2 separate regions of the Homo sapiens genome follow, and region 2 is linked to region 1. The links are contacts of gene promoters, found by promoter capture Hi-C in blood cells and fetal thymus (Javierre and others, 2016). All regions are on one chromosome and are shown on one strand. Each heading gives the region's core, a stretch centred on a gene start or on the middle of the fragment in contact. The rest is flanking DNA. Distances are from core to core; before and after follow the strand shown. Region 1 holds the start of PIGH (phosphatidylinositol glycan anchor biosynthesis class H). Region 2 overlaps VTI1B (vesicle transport through interaction with t-SNAREs 1B).

The links. Contacts are between HindIII fragments. The CHiCAGO score rates a contact against its expected background, and 5 or more counts as called.
Region 2: a contact is called between a fragment that was not itself captured here and the fragment with the promoter of PIGH in region 1, in 3 of 17 cell types (megakaryocytes, naive CD4 T cells and total B cells). The highest score is 5.4, in megakaryocytes.

The regions. Positions count from the first base shown.
Region 1 is chr14:67,599,018-67,605,035 of GRCh38, reverse strand. It overlaps PIGH (phosphatidylinositol glycan anchor biosynthesis class H), which reads left to right and starts at 4,768. Exons shown (of 4, transcript NM_004569.5): 1 at 4,768-5,012. The coding sequence starts at 4,833. It also overlaps a transcript of GPHN not described here. RefSeq lists an enhancer at 4,771-5,090. The HindIII fragment of the contact is 5,160 bases long and covers 3,752-6,018 here.
Region 2 is chr14:67,656,835-67,663,708 of GRCh38, reverse strand. It overlaps VTI1B (vesicle transport through interaction with t-SNAREs 1B), which reads left to right. Exons shown (of 6, transcript NM_006370.3): 2 at 1,174-1,232; 3 at 3,787-3,978. It also overlaps a transcript of GPHN not described here and the pseudogene RNA5SP386. Among named protein-coding and RNA genes, the nearest start is that of VTI1B, 14 kb to the left of the region's middle. The HindIII fragment of the contact is 1,868 bases long and covers 4,434-6,301 here.

The sequences.
Region 1 (6,018 bases), core at 3,519-6,018:
GAGAAATCAAGACCTACTGTAGAGCTACAGTAATTGAGACAGGTTGCTATTAGCACAAGGGAAGACAAAATAGAACAACAGAACATAATAGAGAGTGTGGAAATAGACCGAGAAATTTGTGGTCACCTATTTACAACAAAGGCACTATCTCAATTAGGGGGGAAGGGTAGTCTTTTCAACACGTGCTGCTGGGAAACAAAATGACCCTTAACCTCTACAAACAAAAATTAGTTCAAAATGGATCATTGGCTTAAATATGAAAGGTAAAATAATTAAGCTTCTAGGGAAAAAAAAGATAGGCAAAGTTTTTTTTGTTGTTGTTGTTTTGTTTGTTTTTTCTCGCTCTGTTACCCAGGCTGGAATGCAGTGGCTTGATCACAGCTTTTTGTAGCCTCCTACAGTAAGCTGGGCTTACTGGGCTCAAGCAACCCTTCTGCCTCAGCCTCCCTAGTACCTAGTAGCTGTGCCACCATGCCCAGCTTTTTGTTTTTTGTTTTTTGTTTGGTAGAGTCAGAGTCTCGCTATGTTGCCCAGCATGTTCTGGAACTCCTGAGCTCAAACGATCTTCCTGGCTCAGCCTCTCAAAGTGCTGGGATTATAGGCATGAGCCACCATGCCCGCAAGACAGGCAAAGCTTCCTAAACAGGACAAAATATTATACAACACTAGCCATAAAAGACAAGATTGATAAATTGGACTTTATGAAAATTAAAACCTCTGTTCATCAAAAGACACCATTAGAGTATGGAAAAGTAAGTCACAGACTGTTTTACTGCTTGGAGGATATACCTCAATTAAAACATTTCCTTAAATGGACAGATGAGGAGACTTCCATTTCTGAAAGATGGAACAGACATTCTTTGCCTATCCATCCCAGTAAGAAAGCTAAAACCTTTGCGCCTGTAATCCCAGCTACTTGGGAGGCTGAGGCACAAGAATCGCTTGAACCCAGGAGGTGGAAGTTGCAGTGAGTAGAGATTGTGCTACTGCACTCTTGCCTAGGCGACAGAGCAAGACTGTCTCAAAAAAAAAACAAAAACAAAAAACAAGGGCAGGGCTGGGAGCGGTGGCTCACGCCTATAATCCCAGCACTTTGAGAGGTTGAGGCGGGCAGATCACCTGAGGTCAGGAGTTTGAGACCAGCCTGACCAACATGGAGAAACCCCATCTCTACTAAAAATACAAAATTAGCTGGGCATGGTGGCGCATGCCTGTAATCCCAGCTACTTGGGAGGCTGACCTCAGCAGGAGAATCGCTTGAACCTGGAATGCGGAGGTTGTGGTGAGCCAAGATTGTGCCATTGCACTCCAGCCTGGGTAACAAGAGCAAAACTCCGTCTCAAACAAACAAACAACCCACAAAGCAGTAATAAGGATTTTAGTGACTGGGTGCAGTGGCTCATGCCTGCAATCCCAGCACTTTAGGAGGCCAAGGCAACAGGAACGCTTCAACCCAGGCATTCAAGGTCACAATGAGTTATGATTATACCACTGCACTGCAGCCTGAGTAACAGAGCAACACCCTCTCTCTAAAAAGAAAAAGGATTTTAGAGATCTTAGACTACCACAGTATTTATTCCTAATAATTGAGTATTTTTAAAAAATTAAGTAAAGTACATTTGGCCTTTTTCTTTCTATAACTCTATAATTGTGAAACTTCTTAGCCTGCTGGGCATGGTGACTCATGCCTGTAATCCCAACTCTTTGGGAGGCTGAGGCCGAAGGATCACCCGAGCCTAGGAGTTTGAAAATAGCCTGGGAAACATAGTGAGATGCCATTTCTACAAAATATGCAAAAATTAGCCTGATGTGGTAGAGTGTGCCTGTAGCCCTAGATACTTGAGGGGCTGAGGTGGGAGGATCTCTTTAGCCCAGGAAGTTGAGACTGCAGTGAGCCATGACCGTACCACTGCTGCACTCCGCTTTCGGTGACAGAGCAAGACCTTGCCTCAAACAAAACAAAACAAACCAGAAAGAAAGAAAAAGAAAAGAAACTTCTTAGCCTGTACAGGTACCTTTTGTATTGTAGACCCTCTGGAAGTTTGGCGAAATGAATGGACCCTTTATTATAATAATGCTTTAAAATGTATAAATACATAGGACTTCTAAGAAAATCAACTAAATTAAAATATGGTTATCAAAATATTTTAAAAATGTGTTACAGTGATATGTTTCTCTTTATTGACACATTAAATAATAATAGCTAGTGATGGGTTTAATAATTACTGCAATTTTGAAGTAGCAATGACTAGAAATGACATTTTGAAACAATTATTGTGAAAAGAAAATATCTGTGATTTCTGTCAGTGACAAAAATCACAAGCTCTACTAATACTAGTTTGTTGCCCATATTCATAATCAAAAGAAATGTTAAATTTTAATTAGAAGTTAATGAAACTAAAAATGAAACACTGATTCTATCCGTGGAGCCCAAGTTAAGAACTCCAGGACTACAGGCTTCCCCAAAACATTAACAGTACTTATCTCTGAGTGATGGAAATATGGGTGGTTTACATTTTTTTCTTTTCTGTATTTTTCAAATTTTCCACAATAAGCAAATATCACTTTTATAATTATAAAACACATGATATATGCAATAGTAAAAGGGGTGATATGGTTCGGCTCTCTGTGCCTACCCAAATCTCATGTCAAATTGTAATCTCCACTTGTTAGGGGAGGGACCCAGTGGGAGGTGATTGGATCATGGGGACGGATTTCCCCCATGCTGGTCTCGTGATGCTGAGTGAGTTCTCTCACGAGATCTGACGGTTTAAAAATGTGGCACTTCCCCACTCCCCTCCTGCTGCCATGTAAGACATGCCTGGCTTCCCCTTTGCCTTCCACCATTATTGTAAGTTTCCTGAGGCCTTGCCAGCCATGTGGAACTGTGAGTCAATAAACCTCTTTTCTTTATAAATTACCGAGTCTCAGGTAGTTCTTTATAGCAGTGTGAAAACGGACTAATAAAAGGAGTGTATTAATTGTCAGATTCGGGGCACAGAAATAAAACTAGAAAAATAAAGAAGTGCTTGAAGAAATCCTTTAGGAAAAAAGAAAGGGAAATAAAATTCTGAATGAAGATGAAGAAACGGAACCTTTCATCAGAGAGACTTAAAGCTGGTGAGACCTTTATGCCATGGATCTTTTTTTTTTTTTAAATGAATATAGACACAGTCTTGCTCTGTTGCCCAGGCTGGTCTTGAACTCCTAAGTTCAAGTGATTCTCCTGCCTCAGCCACCCGAACAGCTGGGATTACAGGCATGCTCCACCATGCCCAGGTAATTTTTTTGTATTTTTAGTAGAGATGGTTTCACCATGTTGGCCAGGCTGATCTTGAACTCCTGACCCAAGTGATCTGCCCTCCTCAGCCTCCCAAAGTGCTGAGATTACAGGCATGTGCCACCATGCCCAGCCCATCACAAGTGTTTTGACAGTCCACATAGCCACTCCTGGGCCACATCAGAAGTAAAAATGGAACTCATAGGCCACTATTACTCATGAGTTTAGTAATTTTATTATCCATTTCTTCTGCATCTCCCGCTCCTGCTTAATTCCCAGCCAGGTCTTGCCTGTCTACCACGGTCCAAGCAGTCATTTGGGAGACAGAACTCCCAGGCAGTGAAATCCAAACTCCTTACCAGACCCTACAAGACCCTCTTGGATCTGACCCCTACCTGCCTCCCCAGCTTCCAACTGTTTTCCCCACACACCAACCTTTCTCGCCTTTTGATTATTTCATTAAGCCAAGCTTGTTCCAACTTCGAGGGGTTTGCCTTTCCTGGTCTTTCTTTCTGGCAAATTCCTCCTCCAGAGCTCCTTCAGTCCTGTCTGGCTCGTCACCCTTGTAACTCAGTGTCCTCTTACTTAGAGACTTCGCCTGACTGCCCTATGTAAAGTCCTCAGTCCATCCCTGCCAGTCAGCATAGTATTGCCAACGATACTCTCTTATTTCCATATTGTCTCCTACTAGAAAGGAAGCTGCCCGAGGGCAGAGACTGTCATCAACATCGTTCACTGCTGCATCCTCAAGCACCTCAAACTACCCGGCACAGGAAAAGAGTAAGTGAAATGAATACCCGTGGGCTCTCCTTGCGGCTCACTCTGGCTTAGAGAAATCGGCTTGCCAAGCAAAAGCATGATTAAAACTGTGGGTTTGGGCTGGGTGCGGTGGCTCACGCCTGTAATCCCAGCACTTCGGGAGGCCGAGGCGGGCGAATCACCTGAGGTCAGGAGTTTGAGACCAACCTGGCCAACATGGTGAAACCTGTCTCTACTAAAAATACAAAAATCAGCAGGGCGTGGTGGCGCGCGCCTGTAATCCCAGCTACTCAGGAGGCTTAGGCAGGAGAATCGCTTGAACCCGGGGGAAGCAGGTTGCAGTGAGCCGACGTCGCGCCATTCCGTCTCAAAACAAAAACAAACTGTGGGTTTGTTTTGAGACAGGGTCTTGCTCTCTCGCACAGGCTAGAGAGCAGGGGCATGATCTCCGCTCACTGCAACCTCGACCTCCCAGGCTCAAGCGATCCTCCCGCCTTGGCCTCCCAGTGCTGGACTACAGGCCTGAGTCAACGCGCCCGGTCTAAAAACGATTTTAATCTTTCCACTTAACTATTGCCCCGACGAGGTTTTTTCGAAGACAGTCAAGGCCGGCCCGGAAGAACGCACAACCATCAGCCCCCAGCAGAGCTCTCGGCGCGCAACTGAGGCTGCGCAGGCTTAGGGCGGGGCGTGGTGACGCGGCTGCCGGAAGCGGGTCTGGAGCGGGCGAGACGGCCAGGGCCGGCGAGCGCAGTGCAGCGCCGCGCGGTGCGGGCGGCCGAGTGGGGGCGTCATGGAGGATGAGCGGAGCTTTTCGGATATCTGCGGCGGCCGCCTGGCGCTGCAGCGCCGCTACTACTCCCCGTCCTGCCGGGAATTCTGCCTCAGCTGCCCTCGGCTCTCGCTGCGTTCGCTCACCGCTGTCACCTGCACGGTGTGGCTGGCGGCCTACGGACTCTTCACCCTCTGCGAGGTAATGGCAAGTCGGCCCCTCCCCGCGCTCGAAGGAGGGGGTTCGGCTTTGGGAGGGTCTTTGGGGTCTTTGGTCGAGCCCGGACCTCTGGTCGGCCCCTCCTACAGTGATAGGACAGGAGGGCGGGAACTCACGGGTTCTGGGGACGATATTCCGCTGCTGGACAGCTCTTTAAATGACGTTTAGTGAAATGTGTGCTCCTGGATAGTACATTCCCCTTCCGTGGCTGTGCTCTGCTCCGTGGGTTCACTCAGCATACATCTAGTTCTTGCGCGACGGCCTAAAACTTTAACTGCCATGTGTTCTATGTAGTATAGGCGCGCAGTAATTTAATTCCAAGAGTTCAAGGAACTACTAAGTGGGTCTTCCTCGTCCATCCCTTCTGCTCCTCAAAGTAGTACTGCTAACAATACTTTACGTAGACTTCCACAAACTGTCTTTGCCTCCACAAGTGTGTGTGTTTATCTGTGTGTATAGATAGAGTGTTATAGTTCTTCCTAATCTCTGTTTTTCAAGGGAGTTTTTTAACCCTCCCTCCTCCCAAACCCTTCCCCAATTTCAAGTACTTTCTAAAGGTTTATGAAATTTTGGACGTGTGTGATAGCTGTGCTCAATTTCCAGATTCATTCCTGTTTTCTCTGAGCCTCAATTTTCTACATCTCTAAAATAGAATTCATGCCTGCCATACCAGCTTCATGATATTGTGAGGGTTAAATGCAGTAACTTTGTGACAGCTCTCAAATAAAAAGAATTATCCTAATTTTCAGGATAAGTTCTAGTTTCATATGTAGTGCCTGAATTGAATGTATTATCCCAGAAGTGATCTAATCAGAGCTAAGTACAGCAGGGCTATTTATTTTTGTAACTTGGATATTGTTTCCATTACTGCATCCATTCGCTTTTTTGCTGTCAAAGCGTGTTTCAGAGCATGGTAATTTAGCATAGAAATATGCAGAATTAAGACTGCCCTAATTGCAGGAAACTATCTAACTATCTAAACCGTATG
Region 2 (6,874 bases), core at 4,118-6,617, 58 kb before region 1:
GTCACTTACATTTTATTTATTTATTTATTTATTTTGAAATGGAGTCTCCCTCTGTCGCCCAGGCTGGAGTGCAGTGGCACAATCTTGGCTCACTGCAAGCTCCGCCTCCTGGGTTCACACCATTCTCCTGCCTCAGCCTCCTGAGTAGCTGGGAATACAGGCGCCCACCACCACACCAGGCTAATTTTTTGTATTTTTTAGTAGAGATGGGGTTTCACCGTGTTAGGCAGGATGGTCTCGATCTCCTGACCTCATGATCCGCCCGCCTCGGCCTCCCAAATTGCTGGGATTACAGGCGTGAGTCACCGTGCCCAGCCTTGTCACTTACATTTTCTTTATGTCAACTTATTTCATGTAAAATACATTTATTTAAAACAATGTTATTTAAAAATGAAACTTGCTATCATATTTTAGATGGAAAACCTGTAGTATAAACTATCAGAAAATACAATTAAGACAATACTGTTTTAGTTAGATGTTTGTTTTGAAGCTGAAGCCTGTTCTATTTTTGTTCAAAGGGGAGATTAGTAATTTTTAGGTATTAAAGATACACTCAACCAAAGGGACAGAATGGGAAAGGCTGAAAGGGGAATGAATAACGTTCTCATCGTTCAAGTCATTGCCGGTGCCACACCCAGAGAAAAACAAGCACCACACCAGACAGCCTCTCAGCAAGCCGAGTAGGTGGAATTTTTATTTTGCAGAAAAGTAGTGTACGAGTTAACATAGAAGTGGTTCACTGTGGGAGTGGTGAGGGGTTTCAGAGAGTCACTATTGGTAAACATTCTTTTTTTTTTTTTTTTTTTGAGACAGAGTCTTGCTCTATTGCCCAGGCTGGAGTGCAATGGCGCAATCTCGGCTCATTGCCACTTCCACCTCCTGGGTTCAAGCATTTCTCTACCTCTGCCTCCCAAGTAGCTGAGATTACAGGTGCCTGCCACCACGCCCGGCTAATTTTTGTATCGTTAGTAGAGATGGGGTTTCACCAGGTTGGCCAGGGTGGTCTTGAACTCCTGACCTTGTGATCCACCTGCCTTGGCCTCCCAAAGTGCTGGGATTACAGGCATGAGCCACCAGGCCCTGCCATAGGAAGCTTATTCGAAGCAGAGGGAATGGCCTTTACAAATGTGTGGAAACAGTAATAAGCATTTGAAACTTATCTATCTTTTCTAGAAGAAAAGAAGAAATTGATCAGGGATTTTGATGAAAAGCAACAGGAAGCAAATGAAACGGTGAGAACAAGGAACAAATTTTGTTTCTTCTACCTGGTGTTGGTCTTTTCCAGAAGTAATGCTATGAGCTGATCACAAATTAACTGTTCCTGTCCATTGATCTTGATTTTGACTATTTCTTACTAAATGAAGCCAGTTGATGGGGATGGTTGTTGAGGGGGTTTGGCAAACAAATGGGTGAAGCCTGAAGATGCTCCTGAAATGTGACTCTTTGGTAATATATTGCTGATGTGAGTAGTAAGGGCATTCTCATACTTTTACCCAAGCAGTCTTTTAAAATCTGTTGTTTTTTTTTTTGTTGTTGTTGTTGTTGTTTGTTTTGAGACAGAGTCTCGCTCTGTTGCCCAAGCTGGAGTGCAGTGGCACAGTCTCGGCTCACTGCAAGCTCCACCTCCCGGGTTCACACCATTCTCCTGCCTCAGCCTCCCAAGTAGCTGGGAATACAGGTGGGCGCCACCACACCTGGCTGTTTTTTTGTATTTTCAGTAGAGATGGGGTTTCACCGTGTTAGCCAGGATGGTCTCGATCTCCTGACCTCATGATCTGCCCGCCTCGGCCTCCCAAAGTACAGGGATTACAAGGCATGAGCCACCGTGCCTGGCCTAAAATCTGTTTTTAAGAGCTGGCCATTAAGATAGGTTACTGGTCAGTGCGGTGGCTCACGCTTGCAATCCCAACACTTTGAGATGCCAAGGTGGGAGGATCACTTGAGGCCAGAAGTTCAAGACCAGCCTGGGCGACATAGGGAGACCCCCCATCTCTACCAAACAAAAAAAAATTACCGAGGTTTGGTGGTGCATGCCTCTGGACCCAGCTACTCAGGAGGCTGAGGTGGGAGATCACTTCAGCCTGGGAGGTCAAGCATGTGGTTAGCCACAGTTGCACCACTGCACTCCAGTCTGGGTGACAGAGTGAGACCTGCCTCAAAAAAAAAAAAAAAAAAAAAAGGTTACTGTTCTTTGTTAAACCTACTGTCACAGAAAATGTAGTTTAGAGGTAATTCTAACCATGTCCCTTTCTGTCTTAAGAGACAACATAGGAGCTGGAGTTGGTACCTCAGGCAAGACATGCATGAGTCTCAGTTGGTACCCAAAGTTTGTCAGAAGTTGGTTCCGTTTACTGAACAGTTTAACAACTGCTTCTCTTCACCTGTGGCTTTTCTTTAAAAAAAAAAAACTTTTTTTTTTTTTTTTTTTTTGCTCTAGCCCTATAGAAGCAAGAGTCCTTTGACTCCATCTCATCATACTCTAGCTTCAGCAAACTCATTAAGATTGGGGCCAAAATTCTGGTCGCTGCTAGTACTCCGCAGAAATAGTTGGCCCTGTATTTGCTACCCGAGAGCAGATGGAGAAAAAATTCTCTTTTGGCCAGCGAACTTCCTTCTTGCTTGTTGAAGATCAGTGTTTCAATTTCCCACTTATCCCAATGAAGTTCTGAGAAGGAAGCACATCTGCATCCTTTTCTCTGTTTTGCATCTGTTTTAAGAAAGACCAGGCCACTAGACTGTGGGAACTATCTTCTTCCTAATGGGAGTACTGGGAGCTTTTCTTAATACCTGTGTACAGCTGGGCATATCCATGATACCTGTTTGTAGCCATTCTCCTGTTTCAGTTAATACCTTGGTAGCATTTTTAAAATCTTCTAGCTGCTACTGATTTGTTTGATGCTCAGATACTTGTTTTCTCCAAACTCAGCAAAAGTAATAATCCTATGCTGCCCATTCCAGGCAGATGAAAATAATTTAGGGCCTCTTGTGGATGTGTCCAGGTGTTACATTTTACTTACCCCAGAAAAATGGAAGTCTGATTCCCCTAAAGCAGACTGCTCTGGGTAGGCCCCTGTTCTCTCTGACATGGAGACAAACTTAATTGATTTTCAGAAAGAGGAGCAGGAGAAGGGAAGAACCCTGATGCCAGACCCCTATCATTTTTAATACAGTAGACTTCAAAGCACTTCTTGATGGCAATGTTCAATCATACCAGGCTAAAAACTTGGTATATTGAAGAGAGCTGAGAGAATTTGAAGATTTTGAATCCTGACTCCTTTTCTGTTTAATTTTTTATATATATATAGAGATGAGGTCTTGCTATGTTGCCCAGGCTGTGCTCAAGTGATCCTCCTGCCTCGGCTTCCCAAAGTGCCAGGATTACAGGTTTGAGCCACTGTGCCTGGCCCGGACTCCTTTTTGTGCGATCTTCAGAGGTTTCTTTAAGTCTTATATATGAAATGGAGCATTTCCTACCTTATTGATTTGTTGTGAGGATTAAATGGAGAATGTATATAAAAGTGTTTAGTAAGCTATAAAGTACTTCTGTTTTTCCATTCATTCATTCAGTTCATATACTCGAATGCCTGCTCTGTGCTTGCTGGGCACTATGCAAGGCATTCAGAATGAGGGGAACATGCCAGACATGGTCCCTGCCTCATGGAGCATATGGTTATTTACTTGGTGTAGTCCAAATAAATAAGTAGTTTGATTAGTCCAAACTAGGCATATTTCCAAATGAGTGAGGGAAGAACCAGGCTATCTGCTCACTACTTTCTGCCTTCCCAGCTGGCAGAGATGGAGGAGGAGCTACGTTATGCACCCCTGTCTTTCCGAAACCCCATGATGTCTAAGCTTCGAAACTACCGGAAGGACCTTGCTAAACTCCATCGGGAGGTGAGAAGCACACCTTTGACAGCCACACCTGGAGGCCGAGGAGACATGAAATATGGCATATATGCTGTAGAGAATGAGCATATGGTAAGTTTTAGCTGTTTTGTTTGTTTTTTTTTTCCTTTAAGGGCCTGTGGTACAAAAATTAACTATATTGTTGGGGTATTTCATGTTATCAGTGTATACTAGACTCTTGTTTCATTTTTTTCACCCTTATCCTCTTTTCTGCATCCAGTTCCTGTTACCCCTTGGTATCTGCTCTATTTAAGGCAGGCCTTTCGAACTATATGCATATTTAGATTTCTTTTTATCCTTAATATAATACAGTCTTATAATAAAAAAAAAACAGTGCTTTGTATGTAGTAGAATGTAAATGTTACCTATTCTTATTATCTGGATTCTGACTCATTGATCTAATTTCTTTTCTCCTTGATCTTTTTTATTCTCTCATATAAATTTTAGAATCACTTTCTCAGGTATGCCTGGAAAATTCAGTTAGGTTTCTAATTTATCAGAATATTGTTACAAAATCAATCCAAGCTTTCCTTTACCTTAATGTCAAGATGGCCCAGCAACTGAGATACAGTAGCCAATGCAGGGCGCTTCTCGAGAAGGAGCTTTTTATCATTTTATTCTGTGGTAATAGAAAGTGAGCAAGACTCCCTCTCTAGCTTTCAGGATTCTGATTTATAAAATTGGACTAATTGAACATCTGTATTCTGAAACCATCTAGAGCAGCTAGATCGTTAAAGGAATAAAACGTCTGAAAGATTAAATGTGCTGCATTTGGTCTGTCTTCCACAAACACAACACAAAGTAGAAATTCTCTGGCAAGTAGCATGGCAGAGAAATGGAAAGGGGCCCACCAGTGCAGACTGAAAGGCTCATACTACAATTTTAAACAAATCCTGTTTCACGATGCATCCTGATTATAGTTTAAGAGATATTCAGGATGATATTGGCTTGACATTGCTGATGCCAAAACTAGATCCCTTGAGAATGAAGTACTTAAAATTTTCAAATGGATGCGCGAGGGATTATCACAGATTAGAAGCTGACAGAAGATCACTTGTAAAGGGAGACTGGAAACAGGCAGGCAGGTGGAGCTGGTTAAAGTGGGAGTTGTAAAAGTGACTTTAGTCATGTTGCCAAAGTTGGGGAGGAAGTCCAAACAATTTTGCTTTAAAATTATGAGTTTCAGAAATTATTATTATTTTTTTTGAGACGGAGTCTCGCTCTGTCACCCAGGCTGGAGTGCAGTGGCGCAATCTCGGCTCACTGCAAGCTCCACCTCCCGGGTTCACTCCATTCTCCTGCCTCAGCCTCCCAAGTAGCTGGGACTACAGGCGCCCACCACCACGCCCGGCTAATTTTTTTTTGTACTTTTAGTAGAGACGGGGTTTCACCGTGTTAGCCAGGATGATCTCCATCTCCTGACCTTGTGATCCACCCGTCTCGGCCTCCCAAAGTGCTGGGATTACAGGCATGACCCACCACGCCTGGCGAGTTTCAGAAATTATTAAAACATAATTTAGGTATCCATACCTTCAGAAAAAGTATTGTTCCAAATCTGTCTGAAGTTCATTTATGTGATCTGATCTTTTCTTAGTCATTTTTTAGCCTACTCAGTTGAAAATCTGCATCTTTTATTTTGAAAACCTTTTTCCTTCTTCCTTTGCGCTAACCTAACTGGTTTTATTTGAACCTCATTCAGTGGTTTCCTCGTCTACTGGTCTGTATGCCATTTATTAAGTGAAAATGCTACAGAGCGCCGGGCACAGTGGCTTACGCCTGTAATCCCAGCACCTTGGGAGGCTGAGGCTGGTGGATCACCTGAGGTCAGGAGTTCGAGACCAGCCTGGCCAACATGGTGAAACCCTGTCTCTACTAAAAATACAAAAATTAGCTGGGCGTGGTGGCGGGTGCCTGTAATCCCAGTTACTTGGGAGGCTGAGGCAGCAGAATTGCTTGTGCCCGGGAGGCAGAGGCTGCAGTGAGCTGAGATCTTGCCACTCCACTCCAGCCCGGGCGACAGAGCGAGACTGTCTCAAAAAAAAAAAAAAAAAGAAAGAAAGAAAATGCTCCTTGCTACTTCTGTTCTGGGAGCCAATCTTTTGGCTCCTTGATGGTCCTACTGCCAGTGGTCACTTGCTCTGTACTAGGCCTCTGTGAGCTGGGTCCCTTTTGATTTTGGGTGTGTGTGTGTGTGTGTGTGTGTGCACGCGCGCGCGTGCTTTGAACAGCTAAGAACTTGGAGCTGCCTCCGTTTCTGTCAGTGGTTGTTAATTCTGGCCTGACAAGGCTACTTTTTTCTTCCTGCTGTCTGTATTTAGGATTACAGGTGGAGTAAAACTTCGGTGGGGATTTAGAAAATTAGGGCAGTTGAGAAATTAGGGCAGGTGGGGAAGCTTGCTCAAGCCCCAGATACTAATTTCCCTGAGACCAAATCACCCCCAGTGTGGCAGGCTCAAGGTTTTTTGTTTGACCTTAGGTGAAGTTCTTTCTGGGGCTCACCAAGAGGGTAACCACATACGTTTTTTCCAGAATGTGGTAGTGTCTCAGACTTCTACATGCTTTCTTTAGAAGCTGAAAAAGAAGAATGTAGTCATCTAGGCAATACCACTCTGAACCTGCCTGATCTCAGAAGCCAAGTGAGTCAGGCCAGGTTAGTACTTGGATGGGAGACCACCTGGAAATACCAGGTGCTGGAGGCTTAAAACGAAGAACAGAATAGCTTATTCATGGTCCGTCAATCCTCAGTACCAGTCTAGTGGGAATCTTCAGTGAATTAACCTTTTTCTAGGGCTGCAGAGTTTAGTTGGTTTGCCCATAGCACTATCGAAGTTACAGGCTATATGCATTATCAGGTAGCTCCCACATCTGGGCTGCCACCTTTCAGAAGTTGATAGTCCAGGAGGCACATGGACCAGTTCAGATTCATTACAAACACAGGGAAAGTGCTCCAGTATTTTTAATCCATCTT